Regions from separate parts of the Homo sapiens genome. Here regions 1 and 2 are each linked to region 3. The links are contacts of gene promoters, found by promoter capture Hi-C in blood cells and fetal thymus (Javierre and others, 2016). All regions are on one chromosome and are shown on one strand. The core of a region is centred on a gene start or on the middle of the fragment in contact, and the rest is flanking DNA. Distances in the headings are between cores, read along the strand shown. Region 1 holds the start of UGP2 (UDP-glucose pyrophosphorylase 2). Region 2 holds the start of WDPCP (WD repeat containing planar cell polarity effector). Region 3 holds the start of ETAA1 (ETAA1 activator of ATR kinase).

Region 1 (2,700 bases), core at 16-2,515, 3.6 Mb after region 3:
TATTCCCAGGGTCAAATGATGGCCATTACTGACACAACTTTTTTTTTCCAAAAGTACACCTACATTTATCAGGAAGCATAATAAGTGTTTGTGAACTTTACTAGCTGTGTGTTCATCAAGATGGCTGAAGCTTTCACACACTGGAGTCTACAAGGAAAGAGTTTACTTGCATACCAGAAGGCAAATCTCATGCTACAAACTGGTGTCAAAGGTTTATGCCAGCACCAATTTCAGTGAGTACACCGTACACACATGCATTCATATACACGTTACTGATAATCTCAGTTGAGGCATTCCCTAACCCTTTTTAAATACACATGTGGAATTTAGAGAGCAGTTTTCAAACTTCAAAGGAACCTTAATCATCTTTTCATAGTTCAAAAAAGGAAAAAATAAACACAGCAATGCAGCAAAGTCATTTCTCCAGCTGAAATGACCTCCAGCTTCTTCGGGCTACTCCCAGTTTCGCAATAAGTGAATCTGAGACGCAAACCACGTACACACAAACGAAGTAGAAGCGGAGAACACTAAAGCTTCCCCAACAGTCCCGGCAAAACCCACCCGGCTTTTCTCAGTCCTCCCGCTTCCCCAGCCCTTCCCGTCTGCGTGCACGCACAGGTACCTTGACACAGACCAGGAAAAGAGAACAAGGATTAATTAGCAGCCAAAAATCCTGTTTTATCACTTACAGCCACTATCCAGGAAAGCGACGGTACTACTAACCTGATTTCAGGGAGGCAAAACTAAACCCAGCAGGGTACAGGAGCATAAATTATACGCGTCTGGAACGTCAACCCAGCAGCTCAAGGCAGCTCAGATGACAATTCAACGAAAAGGGTTTCGCAAATGTTATCTCAAATGAACATTTCCACTTCCAAACCACCCACCAACCTCTCCACTGTCAGTACCCAAATTTGCCTGAAGCAACTCGGGATATAAGCAGCAGCATTTCTTACCTTGTACAAATCTCGACATTTTAGGGGCTTAGTAAAATACTCCGGCTTTTTTTTTTTTTTTCTAGAGGAGTCACGCTACAGGGCAGGTCTCTCTTCCTCTCCTGCTTTAACAACCGATGTATTCTTTCTCCTCCTATATTTAACTACTTAAGGGAGTATTTATTCAAAGCGATTAAAACTGGCTCAAGAAAAAAGAAAAGAAAGAAAGAAACTCCTTCCCCAATTCCAAAAGACGGAAACTTGGTGCGACTGAGTCGGTTTGGGAACTCCTGAGCTCCGGACACAAATGAGGGCCAGCTGGAGACTCCCGGAAAAGGTAAAACCACACGAACTTAAATTTCTTCAATGAAAGAGGCGGACCTACAGCGGCTATTTCACCGCCCCCAAGTCCCCACGCCCTCCAGGGCTGTACTGCAGGAGGCACTGGCAGGCCGCGCCCCTAGCTGCCCCCTCCCCGCGCCGCCGTCCAGGCCCCAAACGCCTCCCCCGAAAACCCCGGTTAACAGCGGCTCCCGCCCAAGCAGGGGTCGGGGAGGCGGGCGAGGCCGGCCAGCGGGGGCAGTGCAACCATTTTCACCAGCCATAAACATCCTGGGACTAGGAGGCGCTACCAATTCCACGCTCTGGCTGGCCGACCGGTCGGGGCCTCAGCTCCCCGCCTTCCCGCCTCGAGCAGTGAAACCCGGCCGCAGCTTTTTCTCGGTAGGGGCCGAAGGCTACGCTGCCCCTCCCCCGCAGCGGACACTAAGGGGTCACCGGCTAGAGGCAGACCCGTGCACCGGCGCGGGAGTCCCAAGGGAGGGCACCGACCCTTCCCGTACATATTCTCGCCCCGCCTGCCCTGCGCTCCTCAGAAGCCCAAATTCCGCCTCCGAGACCACACAGCGGGCCAGCGAGAGCGGGAAACACACTCATCCAGGGGGTCGCCGGAAGCCCAACCCCGCCCCTCCTCAAGCCGCCAGCGAGACCCACCTTCCTCTTCCTTTAGCAGCTGGGAAATTGGGGGCGTTTATGGCGCCCCGGGAAGAAGGCTCGCAGGCTGAAAGTCACCTCTGAGGCGCCCTTCTCTCTCTCTCTCTTCCCTCACACATGCACACCTTGAGCCCCTCCCTAACGGTCGCAGCCCAGCTGCTAACCCCCCCTTGTCCACCCGTCAGCCGGCTCCCGACACCCACAGCCCCTACTTTCTCCTAAACACCTCCCCTCCCCCTCCATTCGGAGCAGCCCCTTCAATGCGGAAATGTCCCTGCCGCACGGACCGACAGGCGCAGCCGCCAGTCAGGAGCCGAGGCGGACGCAGGCTCTGGCCAATGAGACGTGTGGAGGTGGCAAGGGGCGGGGCGTTGCGGCACTTGAGAGCCCGTCGGAGTTGGGCACTGAGCAGTACGCGGGGATACCGCGCGTGGGAGCAGCACTTACGGCGGCGTTGCGGCCAGGGAAGCCTCGCCAGTATATCTCAGTGAGGGAGAGCACCTGAGCACGACTGGTTATTTTTCCAATCAGTAAAAATATTCCCGCTGACTAGGGACTAAAGAAAGCCCTGCGGATAGAGCCGGAGCTCCCCACCGCAGCTGCCCCGAGGGAGCCCAGACGCTTCTCAGGGGACGCTTGCTCCCCTCATCACATCTGGTTGGGGGAGGGTGAGGATGCGTTAGGGAGTAGGCATTGGCCTGTGTGGGCCAGCTAACAAAAGGAGGGTTTAGGCATTGAAGAAAGTGACAAGTGAAGGCTCCCTCACCGGAAC
Region 2 (2,700 bases), core at 3-2,502, 3.8 Mb after region 3:
AAAATGGTTACTCTGTTACATTTAAGAGAGGTGCTTCTGGAATTCACAATATACAGTTCAATAAAGAATATTTGCAGTAGTTATTTAGTTAGTGATGCTGTCACTTCAATATATCCTGGCATTACAAAAAAGGTCAATGAACGGGTTCCAAATAACATTTTGAGAAATTAGATATGGCGGAAACACGTCTGCTGCAAACGCAGATCGTAATCTGGAGCACCTGGTAAATACTACCTTTCCAGCTTTTTGCTTTCAAGGTCCCTGTGACAAAAGCCGTTATAAACACTGTGGGCAAATGAGGAGAAAAAGGGGTTAGGACCCAACCTTTCCCTCCCATCGCAAACCTTATCGTCCTTATCAAACACCGTAACGTCCTTTGGAAAATAGCTGCAGCGTCGCATTTTGTCCTCCCGTCATGCAGCAGGATTAAGATCGCTCCTCTCCCAGGACAACTACTTCTCCAGAGTCCTCCTAAGAGCGCCCCATACCCCGCAAGGTGGAAATCAATCCCTTCCCATTACTGGGTCACTGCGGCAATCCCCAGAAGATGAGTCCGAGCTTGCCAAAGGGCGCGAAGGACAGTGCCTTGCACAGCTGCCTCCCAAAAGTCCCTAAAGTGCAAGAAACCCCACTCAAGGGCGCGAGGGCCAGAGGTGGGCAGGAACCCGGGGCCCACACTCACCATGATTGAAAACTGCGGGGACAATTTCAACAACTGCAAAATGAGCCTCAGAGAGTCAGGTCACCTCTACCGCGGAACTGACTCGGAGAGGGCGAGCGGTGTTAGCGAGAAAAGGCTCCGCTCCCGACGCGGCGCTCTCTGGGAACTGTAGTTTACGCTGCCCTGGTTGTGGCGCAATCTCCAAAGCATTTCCTTCAAGTGTTGAACTACACTTCCCGATACCAGAGGTTTTTTTCAAGCTCTTCTCACTGCGCTCTGCGCCGATTGCAAAGTAGTCCCTGAGGATGAGCCCCTGTGATTGGAGGACGACAACAAACGGATGGTTTGGGCTCAGGAGGAAAGGACCTGCCTGATGGAGCCCGGCAATTGGCGGGAGAGATAGCGTGTGTAACTCTAGGGAGGGGAGAATCACCCCTTAGCGACATCACCCCCACGCGCGTGACTGAGACTGCATCCTCCCATGAGGGTAAACGTGGGAGGTAAAGAGACCTTCCGCTGCGTAAAGCTGGATCGACCCGGAAACAAAATCTTTTAAAAAACGATTGACACTCTGGAGGGGCGGGGGAATTGATAAGTTGGGACGACCGGACAGCTTCTCAGGTTGCTAAGCGACGAGGCGGGAGCGCACGCACACCCTGGCTGCTTTGTAGCACCTGAGGAAACTGTGGCGGCGGCGGCGGCGTCCTGGAGACCCAAGAGACCAAGCGAGCGTGTCGCTCCCTCTCGGGTCCGAGGACCTAGCCTAGGAACCTTCTGCCCGGGGTAGTGTCTGGTGATGAGGCGAGAGTTTTGCTGGGACGCCTACTCCAAAGCGGCCGGGAGTCGCGCTTCTTCCCCACTCCCGAGACAGGTGAGCCCTGGCCCGAGGGCAAGGGGTTTTCTTTTAACCTTAGGATCCGGAATGCGGTTGGTGCGCCGTCCCGCTTTGCTTTTATCCGCTGTGCGGATGCCTGCAAGCTCGCCGGTCCCTTTTCTGAGCGGAGTATGAGGGCTGTGGGAATGCAGCTATTTTGGAGGGGGTGGTGCCCTGGAGTAGGTGCACCCCCGACCCCAAATGGAGCTCTTCCAGAGTTATATCAAAAATATTTATTGAGCATTTACTTTGTAGGAGGTGAGCCTCTCCCTTCCAGGAGGTCACAGTATACGGTTCTAATTTGCTCTAAGCCCTCCGTGAATGTTGAGTTTTGTCCATTCCCTTTTGGAAGAAACAGGATGCGCCTTAAACCATCTTGAGTCTTAAAGTTATGCCAAACAGGCATTTCTAAGGAAAGACTGGCGACTGAAGGGGAGACACTGGTTGTTTAGTCAGTCAGTCTCAGCTGGTAAAACAACTTAAGAGGTTCTCTTTAAAATTAATGCTGCCAAGAGAATTGCTGTGCTTTTTGAAAGCTTGTTTCTTGTGGATGTTAAAAGGAAGATATGATGCTCGGGAGTAGCATACACAGCATATACGTAATGAAAATGAATAAAACATCTCTATTAGATAACATTGTTAGAACTTCCGTTTTTTCTCTGTCACTGATAAATGAATGCCAAGTAATATCTTTCAATTTTTCTCTATTTCAGTTTGGAGGATTTGCTATTTTTGGAAAGAAATGTAATGCTTTACTTTTAGCATTTATTAATATCATACCTGAATGACTCTCCTTGTATCTCTTTATTCATTTGGCTCTCAGACAACATACTTTCCTGGTTTTCCTCTTTTGTTACTGGTTCTCAGTTCTGCGGAGTTTCTAAATTTTTTTTAGTTGTGATCTCTTAACATTGGGGTGCCTGTATTCTCTGTCTATACTAAATCCCTCAGTGAGCTAATTCATAAGTTGCATCACTTCAAATGCTACTTTTAATGTCAAAAACTCTCAAATTTATGTGTCTAGTCCTGAATTAGTAGGTGTGCATTATTCTCAAACCTAGGTTCTCTGAGTTTTACTTTTTACTCTGAGCAGTTACGAAAAATTTCTTCCATTATCCTCCTAAATGAATTCTTCTACTAGCTGCTAACAGAAAGATTTTTCCAT
Region 3 (2,700 bases), core at 17-2,516:
TTTGGGAGGCCGAGGCGGGTGGATCACGAGGTCAGGAAATCGAGACCATCCTGGCTAACACGGTGAAACCCCTGTCTCTACCAAAAATACAAAAAATTAGCCGGGCGAGGTGGCACACGCCTGTAGTCCCAGCTACTTGGGAGGCTGAGGCAGGAGAATCGCTTGAACCCGGGAGGCGGAGGTTGCAGTGAGCCGAGATTGTGCTACTGCACTGCAGCCTGGGCGACAGGGCGAGATTCTTTCCCAAAAGAAAAAAGACACGTAAGGTATAAAAAAAAAAAAAAAAAAAAAAGCACTATTTCAAGAACATGCTCCAGAATAAAGGCTTTTGTATGAGTTTCAGTTCCAACTAAGATTTACTAGAAGTCTTTTAAAAAGTAACACCTAAAACTAATCGAGACGAAAGAGATCCTTAGTATCTTATTTGGAGGGATGTTACACACAGGAACTTCCGGTTTATTCACAATGAGGTGAGACATCTACCAGGCTTTGAGACAAACTTTAACTTTTCCTATGAACTCTTCTCTAAAGCAGGTCACAGGGAAAAAAAGGGTTTAAAGAGAAATAACTTCTCCGGGCAAAAACTGAGGTTAGCGGGCCTATCAGCTGTTTCTTCTCACTCCACCACTGCTGCTGACTGGAGGAGCAGCCTGGAAAGCAGCCGCCCTCCCGCAAACAGGTAAACCACATTACCTATTCCTGTGGCGGAGGCAAATGGATGGTCAAACCTAACGGGGTAGTGCTGAAGTTCGGGGACAAAAGCCCATCGGGGAGTGGTATAGGATTATTTTTGGACTCTCGAGGGGTGAATCCCAGAGACAGAATACACGCTCCAGACTCCACCCCCACCCCAGATTTCCCTGTTGCAAGCTGGGATGTGGGGATGCGGCGCCGAAGCCAAGGCAGGCCGCGCTGCCGACGTCTCACCCTCGGGGTTACTTTTACTGCACAGGGCGGCGGTCGGAGGCTGCTCTCGCTGCCGCACTGGCCCGGGAGGCCCCTCTCTAGCCCCGCAGGGCCACGAACCGCGGGCCGATCTCAGCCGCCTCCTCCCTGGCTCGACCACCGAGCCGCATTCCTCCGCCGCCACTGTTTTGTGCGGCGTTTTCTTCGGGCTAGGGCTGTCATCATGTTTCCTTCGCCGACTCATTGCCTATGGCCCGCCTCCACCAGCCGCTTCTTCTTTCACATTTTGCAAAGGGATGAGTAGGGCAACAGCACTACAAACCGCACCCCGCACCAACGGCAGCCGCCATTTTGGTCGGTGGGGCGCGCGCAAGAGGCGGCCGCTGATTGGCTGGGTCCGGGAGAGGGGCGGAACTGTTAAGGTGCCGAGGGCGCGCGCACTTCCGCAGCCGGGACAGGAGCCTGCTCTGGAGGAGTGTCTAGGCTCAAAATCCTCCAGACTGGTGGGGGTTGTTCGGGTAGTAGTCAGGTCCGCGTAAACTGAGAGTGGGAGCTTGTGAGTTGGAAAGATTGAATACACTAGCAACTTTTTATTGAATTTACAACGAAAATTGCACGTTAGTCAAATTCAGATTATTGAGAGTCTTCGAATTTCTCAAGAAGAGGAAATACAGTTAATTTTTCATAGATGCTATGTGCATAGAAAAATCCAAAAGAAAGTAGAAAAAATTACTAAATTAATTTAAGAGTTGCTGGATACAAAGTCAATATTCAAAGATCAATGTGTTTCAATAGATTAGCAACAGATATAAAATTGAAGTTTTAAAGAGATACTATTTATAATAGTGCATGAGATAGCAAGTAACTAGGAATAAGTTAAAGATTGTCCTTCCTACAAAGAGAACTATAAAACATTTTTGAGGCCGGGCGCCATGGCTCAAGCCTGTAATCTCAGCACTTTGGGAGGCCGAGGCAGGCGGATCACGAGGTCAGGAGTTCAAGACCAGCCTGACCAGCATGGTGAAACCCCGTCTCTACTAAAAATACAAAAAATTAGCCGGGCATGGTGGTGCGTGCCTGTAGTCCCGGCTACTGGGGAGGCCAAGGCAGGAGAATTGCTTGAACCTGGGAGGCGGAGGTTGCAATGAGCCGAGATTGCGCCACTGCACTTGCAGTGAGCAGAGATCGCGCATCTGCATTCCAGCCTGGGCGACAGAGGGGGACTTCGTGTAAAATAAGTAAATACATACATACATACATACATACAAAAATTAGCCAGGCGTGGTGGCGGGTGCCTGTAATCCCAGCTACTTGGGAGCTGAGGCAGAGAATTGCTTGAACCTGGGAGGTGGAGGTTGCAGTGAGCCGAGATTGCGCCACTGCACTCCAGCCTGGGCAACAGAGCAAGACTCCGTCTCAAAAAAAAAAAAAATTTTTTTTTTGAAAGAAAACGAAGACCTAAATAAATGGTTACACTATGTTCATGGGTTGTGAGACTCAATATTGTTACAATGTCAGCTATTTCCAAACTGACCTATAGATTCAACATAAATACATATGAAGGCCCAGTGTGTGACTGTGTGTGTGTAACATGGTAAGTTTTTTCTAAAATTTATATGAAAATGCAAGGGACCAAAAATATCAATAAACTCTTGAAGATCTCTCGAAGAATAATGAGGGTTGATATCTACCAGGTATCAAGACTTATATGGTAATTAAGACAGTGTTATGATGGTGTCAGGATAGACAAAGATGAAAGAAACAGGATAGCACAGAAACAGACTTCCATATAAA

The links. The method cuts DNA at HindIII sites, captures the fragments that hold promoters and counts their contacts. A CHiCAGO score of 5 or more calls a contact.
Region 1: a contact is called between the fragment with the promoter of UGP2 here and the fragment with the promoter of ETAA1 in region 3, in 1 of 17 cell types (monocytes). The highest score is 5.5, in monocytes.
Region 2: a contact is called between the fragment with the promoter of WDPCP here and the fragment with the promoter of ETAA1 in region 3, in 1 of 17 cell types (monocytes). The highest score is 7.0, in monocytes.

The regions. Positions count from the first base shown.
Region 1 is chr2:63,840,461-63,843,160 of GRCh38, reverse strand. UGP2 (UDP-glucose pyrophosphorylase 2) reads right to left here and starts at 1,265. Exons shown (of 10, transcript NM_006759.4): 1 at 957-1,265. The coding sequence starts at 975. It also overlaps a transcript of WDPCP not described here. RefSeq lists enhancers at 1,159-1,208, 2,079-2,258 and a silencer at 1,309-1,618. The HindIII fragment of the contact is 3,639 bases long and covers 536-2,700 here.
Region 2 is chr2:63,587,029-63,589,728 of GRCh38, reverse strand. It overlaps WDPCP (WD repeat containing planar cell polarity effector), which reads left to right and starts at 1,252. Exons shown (of 18, transcript NM_015910.7): 1 at 1,252-1,532. The coding sequence starts at 1,458. MDH1 (malate dehydrogenase 1) reads right to left here and starts at 766. Exons shown (of 9, transcript NM_005917.4): 1 at 683-766. The coding sequence starts at 685. RefSeq lists enhancers at 736-1,055, 1,567-2,087. The HindIII fragment of the contact is 5,833 bases long and covers 1-2,073 here.
Region 3 is chr2:67,395,899-67,398,598 of GRCh38, reverse strand. It overlaps ETAA1 (ETAA1 activator of ATR kinase), which reads right to left and starts at 1,266. Exons shown (of 6, transcript NM_019002.4): 1 at 928-1,266. The coding sequence starts at 1,150. The HindIII fragment of the contact is 4,361 bases long and covers 1-2,700 here.